2 separate regions of the Homo sapiens genome follow, and region 2 is linked to region 1. Evidence: promoter capture Hi-C in human tissues and cell types (Jung and others, 2019). All regions are on one chromosome and are shown on one strand. Each heading gives the region's core, a stretch centred on a gene start or on the middle of the fragment in contact. The rest is flanking DNA. Distances are from core to core; before and after follow the strand shown. Region 1 holds the start of FAM170A (family with sequence similarity 170 member A). Region 2 has its middle 360 kb from the start of PRR16.

Region 1 (2,781 bases), core at 161-2,660:
CCTTTCAAATTTGGGCCCATCTTGGTCCTCTGGGTATTTCTACTGCTTTTTTAATGCAGTGATTTCTGGGAGTCCCCCTCATACTTGTCAACTAATAGTCCCACTGGACTGGGGCCACTGCCCCAAATAAGGTGTCTCTAATTTTAGATTGGAATCAGGAAGATCCAGATGGGTTGCCACTTATAACTGGTATACATTTCAGCCCATGAGCAGAGATGTGCAGGAAATAGTATGCAATTTTCTTATGTAACTCCATTTAATTTGTAATTTAAGCCTTGGTTCTGTTGATGTCCTCTTTGGATTTCCACCCCTCCCTATTTGGAAATCATACAGGGCTGAGGTTTTGAGGGTGGGGTGAGAGCATAGTCTCTGGTTATTGGAGCATACAGCTGAAGTTTAGATGCCCATCAGCTCAGCTGCCAGGGAGTCTTTAGGTGGTGTGGCTCCTATGCCATGTGTGAGATAGGTCGCCATGATTCTGCCTGTACGCATAATACAGGCAGCCCTTCTTGAAGTTTTTGCCACATGTACCTCTTCAGCCACATTTTAGAGGGCTCCTCTCCTCCATAGTTTGAAGATCCCTCTCTCTCTCTGACCTAATCAGTACCTCTCAACACTATAGTAGAGCAAGAAGGGGGCATGCCTAGTTAAAAAAAATCCTGCTTCCGTTATGTTTCTGCTAACTTTCCTCTTTCCTACAGAGTTTGAGATTTTAGAAATAAAAGTCAGGTGGGGTGTGGTGGCTCATGCCTACAATCCTAGCACTTTGGGAGCCTGAGGCAGGAGGATAGCTTGAGGCTAGGAGTTCAAGACCAACCTGGGCAACATACTGAGACCCTGTTTCTCAAAAAAAAAAAAAAAAAAAAAAATTAGCCGGGTGTGGTGCCTCGTGTCTGGTGCCTGTTGTCCCAGCTACTCGGGAGGCTGAAGTGTGATGATCACTTGAGCCTAGGGGCTGAAGTGACCCTATGATCACACCACTGCAATCCAGCCTGGGCAACAGAGAGAGACCCTGTCTCTGAACAAACAAAACAAAATAAAAACAACAAAAAAAAAAAAAAGAAAGAAAAGTCAAGATGATTAACATGCTATTGCTGCTTTCAGCCCTGCCATACCCCTCCTCTGAGCAATGAACACAAAGCCTGCTACCTGCTTGAGTCCAGAAGGGAAAGGGTGAAAAAAAAAGAAGAAAAGAAAAAAATTAAACAGAACATGTTAACATCTCAAAATATTCTGCCACATTTGAAATACGGGAGAGTTGAATTCATTAGAGGACTTCTATTGGAAAAAAGGAATTGTTTTTGAAAATGATGTCTCTGCAGTTGCACAGACTGTGTTGGACCTAGGTCCGTAGAACGCCGTGATGTCATCATTGATGTCAGAGAATCTGCGATGGGCCTGGTGACCTTTGAACCTTAACAGCCCTGCAGTGTAGTGGGCACTGGGCAGTGCTGCTCCTTCACTAAGCGGTCTGAGTTCTTTAGCTATCTCGGAGATTCAACTACGTTTACTCGTACTGAATCTTTTTAATGAATTTCCTGAGAGCCAAGAAGGGCCAATCTACAGGAAAAAGTGGGAGGTGGACATTAAGCATCTTCTAGAAACTCTTCTAGCTGATATCATGAAACGACGACAAAAGAGGAAACATTTGGAAAATGAAGAGTCCCAGGAAACCGCTGAGAAGGGAGGAGGTATGTGCGGGGCAAACTTTCTGGGGCACAAGCGTCACTGGCCAGCCTGAGCCGCCTTCTTTTTCTTTTTTGAGACGGAGTCTCGCTCTATCGCCCAGGCTGGAGTGCAGTGGCGCGATCTTGGCTCACTGAAAGCTCTGCCTCTCGGGTTCACGCCATTCTCCTGCCTCAGCCTCCCGAGTAGCTGGGACTACAGGTGCCCACCACCACGCCCGGCTAATTTTTTGTATTTTTAGTAGAGACGGGGTTTCACCGTGTTAGCCAGGATGGTCTCGATCTCCTGACCTCCTGATCCGCCTGCCTCGGCCTCCTTTTTTTTTTTTTTTTCGTTTCTGAGACAGAGTCTTGCTCTGTCGCCCAGGCTGGAGTGCAGTGGTGTGAGCTCGGCTCACTGCAAGCTCCGCCTCCCAGGTTCACGCCATTCACCTGCCTCAGCCTCCCGAGTAGCTGGGACTATAGGCGCCCGCCACCACGCCTGGCTAATTTTTTTTTTTTTTTTTTTTTTTGTATTTGTAGTAGAGACAGGGTTTCACCGTGTTAGCCAGGATGGTTTCGATCTCCTGACCTCATGATCCACCTGCCTCGGCCTCCCAAAGTGCTGGGATTATAGGCGTGAGCCATCGCTCCCGGCCAGCCTGAGCCTTCTTTAGGGAGGAGAAACTGAGGAGAATGTACCACCTATGCAGTAGGGAGGGGAAGACCTGGCTGTTGGCTGATGCCCGCACATCCATCTTGAGGGTACCCAGATGTGAGACGGACAGGAAGTTCAGATGCCACTGGCACACAGAAAGCCAACCCTGCTGGGCTGAGAACTTTTGCTCTGGGGCTGCTGGTACCTGGAACTATGCCAGTCTCAGGCAGGCGGGGGACCCACTTACAAAGACCCAGTGATGCAGCCTGAGTCTCATCTTTCTCTCGTATTCTCTTTATTTGCTCTTTCTCTGGGGTGACTGAGGTGGAAGGTGTGAAGGGTGCTGGTAGAAGTCTATGATTTGCACTACACCTTTTAGCAGAAACGAGAGTAGCCCAATGAGTTAAAGGCCTTGTTGAAAAATATCTTGAGAAGTGAAATGCTTGTTAGAAAGTAGAT
Region 2 (2,781 bases), core at 103-2,602, 470 kb after region 1:
TAAAACTGCTTTTGCACACTGCCTTTGCCAGAGAGAGAAGCCAAAGGGGTTTGTTAGGAGTATAAGAAGGAGGTTTAAAAGTATTCAATAGAAATTAAATGAGAGGCACATTAGACAATTTTAAGTAATCTCATGTGGATATGAGCAAATTAAAGCAATTAAACAATCTGGTGGTGCATAGTGAAAGCCAAGTAGGATCTCCATTTCTTTCTAATGTTTAAAAATAACTTCACATTGAATGGTGGTTTATGTCCTCCAAGTTTACATTTACACAAATATTAGAGAGTTTCTCACCATCAATGCTCTGGTTGATGCCCTTCCTCCGTATGTTCTCCAGCACTGCCCCTTATAACTTATCCCCTTCATCCATTCCGCACACCACTTCCAGGTTAATTTTGCCTTTCTGAACATCTGGCAGATTTTATTGGCTGTCTATCTGGTAGCCGTTACCTCTTTTTCTTTGCTAATACCACAATTGAGTTAGAACTGCAAAACGCCCAATGCAGAGTCTTAAATCATGATTGGTCTCCTGTGACAATGGCAACCTAGTCTCTCTTGTGACATATGACCTAGTTTTGGCCATAGAGATGTAGTCAAATTTGTGCTGAGTACTTTTGGAATACATTTTTCTCACTGAGAAAGCTGCATGAGGAGGAATTTATTGTGTGGATGTATGAGAATATGAAGCCATAGGAAAAATGTCAACATACTGAGGGTGGTTGAGTAGAAAAATGCTAAAAGCTTAACACTTGGAAATGCTTAGTTCTGGACTTCTTAAGAAAATAATAAATACTTTATGGCATAAGCCACTATTAATTGGCTTTTTTGTGATTGGTTGCAAATACATTCTATATATACATTCTGTCTCCCTGTTTAGCATTTATTTTCCCTTCTTCTCATAACAGTAACTTGATATTCCTTTGAAACCATTCCTCCACTGTCTTCAGCTCACATACAGATGACATATACTTAAGCCAGTCTACACACTCCACGCTCCCCAGCCCTTCATCCAGCCGTAATGATTGCTTCACAGATAAACATATAACTTAGCTGAGACAAATAAGAATCAGGTCCAGAATGCTAGTTAGAACTTTTGGGGAAGAGATTTTTGTTTTGTTTTCTTTTGGAATTTAATCAAAGAAGACATAAGCTGGGAGCTATCACAAGTGAACATTCTATCCACAAGGGAAGCCTAAAAAGAGGAAGGTAGAACTGTGGTAGATACGAGATTCTTATAACAATCTTTGAGACTGCAGCCTGTGGTACTGTGGAATCTTTTGTAGTTTAGTCGATACCTTTTTAAAAAAGTTAAACTTAAGTCATACTGAATTAAAAGGAATCTATCTTCCCTCTGGCACTTAATTCGTTTGTCACTTTTCACATATTGAATTAAAGGATAGCTATCTGGGAATATCTCATTTATTTTGCTAATGTGTAAGCTTCCTAGGTATAAACCTGATATTTCACTCAGCACAATTTTCTGCTTTTATTTAGTAGACACACCATAAATATCTGTGGAATTGATATAAAACTCAAAAATTCTGTATATATTGGGATGACAGCCAATGTGAGATTTTCTAAGAATTTTCTTAGAATCGTAGTGTCATATTCTGAAAGTGCAATTCTCCCTTGTCAAATATCTGTGCTTCATAACTGCTCAGGGAATTTCATGTACAACTTTCTCCCTTCTTACCTATAATTTATCCTAAATTGTATTTTTTTAATTGAAAAACCTAACAATTTATTCTATGTTATGACTGGTCTGCAACTTTAAACTGCTCAAATTCTCAGTTTTTCATTTTTGTCATTGTGTATTCTCACTCTCTCTTCTCTCTTTCTCCTTCTCTTTTCTCTCTTTCCCTCTATAGCCACTGCTCCTTCTCTTTTCTCTCTTTCCCTCTATAGCCACTGCTCCTTCTCTTTTCTCTCTTTCCCTCTATAGCCACTGCTTTGCTTAGGAATCTCGTAAGTCTTATAACCCAAACCCCTACCCTTCCCAGCATCTACTAATAACTGTTTTAGCCCCTACTTCTGTGAGATCAACTATTTTAACTTTCACAAATAAGTGAGAACATATAGTATTTATGTTTCAATGCCTGGTTTATTTCACTTAACATAGTGTTCTCCAAGCTCATCCATGTTGCTGAGAATGACAAGTTTTTTTTTAATCACTAAATTGTATTCTATTGTTAATATATGTCACCTTTTCTTTATTCATCTGTTGATGTATACTTAGGCTGATTCCACATCTTAACTATTGTGAATAGTGCTTCAATAAACATAGAAGTGCAGATATTTCTTTGACATATTGATTTTCTTTGTTTTGGATTTATTCCCAGTATTGGGATTGCTGGATCATATAGTAGTTAAATTTTTAGTTTTTTTTTTAAAGGAACTTTCGTACTGTTTTCCATAATAGCTGCGCTAATGTACATTTCCACCAACAGTCTTCAAGAATTCCCCTTTCCATTCTCAACAGTATTTGTTATTTTTTGTCTTTTTGTTAGCCATTCTAACTAGCATGAGATGATACCTCATTGTAGTTTTGATTTGCATTCCTGATGATTAGTGATGCTGAGCATTTTTATTCACATACCTATTGACCATTTGTATGTCTTCTTTTGAAAAATGTGTATTCAGTTCATTGTCCCATTATAAAATTGAATTATTTGGGTTTTATTTTGATATTGAGTTGTTTTGAGTTCGTTGTATATTCTGGTTATTAATTTCAAATGAAGAGTTTCTAAGTATTTTTCTTACTATACAGGTTGCCTCTTCCCT

The links. Contacts are between HindIII fragments. The study calls those that stand out against the background at their distance.
Region 2: a fragment that was not itself captured here is called in contact with the fragment with the promoter of FAM170A in region 1 in 1 of the 25 tissues and cell types used here (dorsolateral prefrontal cortex).

The regions. Positions count from the first base shown.
Region 1 is chr5:119,628,148-119,630,928 of GRCh38, forward strand. It overlaps FAM170A (family with sequence similarity 170 member A), which reads left to right and starts at 1,411. Exons shown (of 5, transcript NM_001367956.1): 1 at 1,411-1,691. The coding sequence starts at 1,622. The HindIII fragment of the contact is 14,754 bases long and covers 1-2,781 here.
Region 2 is chr5:120,098,125-120,100,905 of GRCh38, forward strand. No RefSeq gene overlaps it. Among named protein-coding and RNA genes, the nearest start is that of PRR16, 360 kb to the right of the region's middle. The HindIII fragment of the contact is 4,575 bases long and covers 1-2,781 here.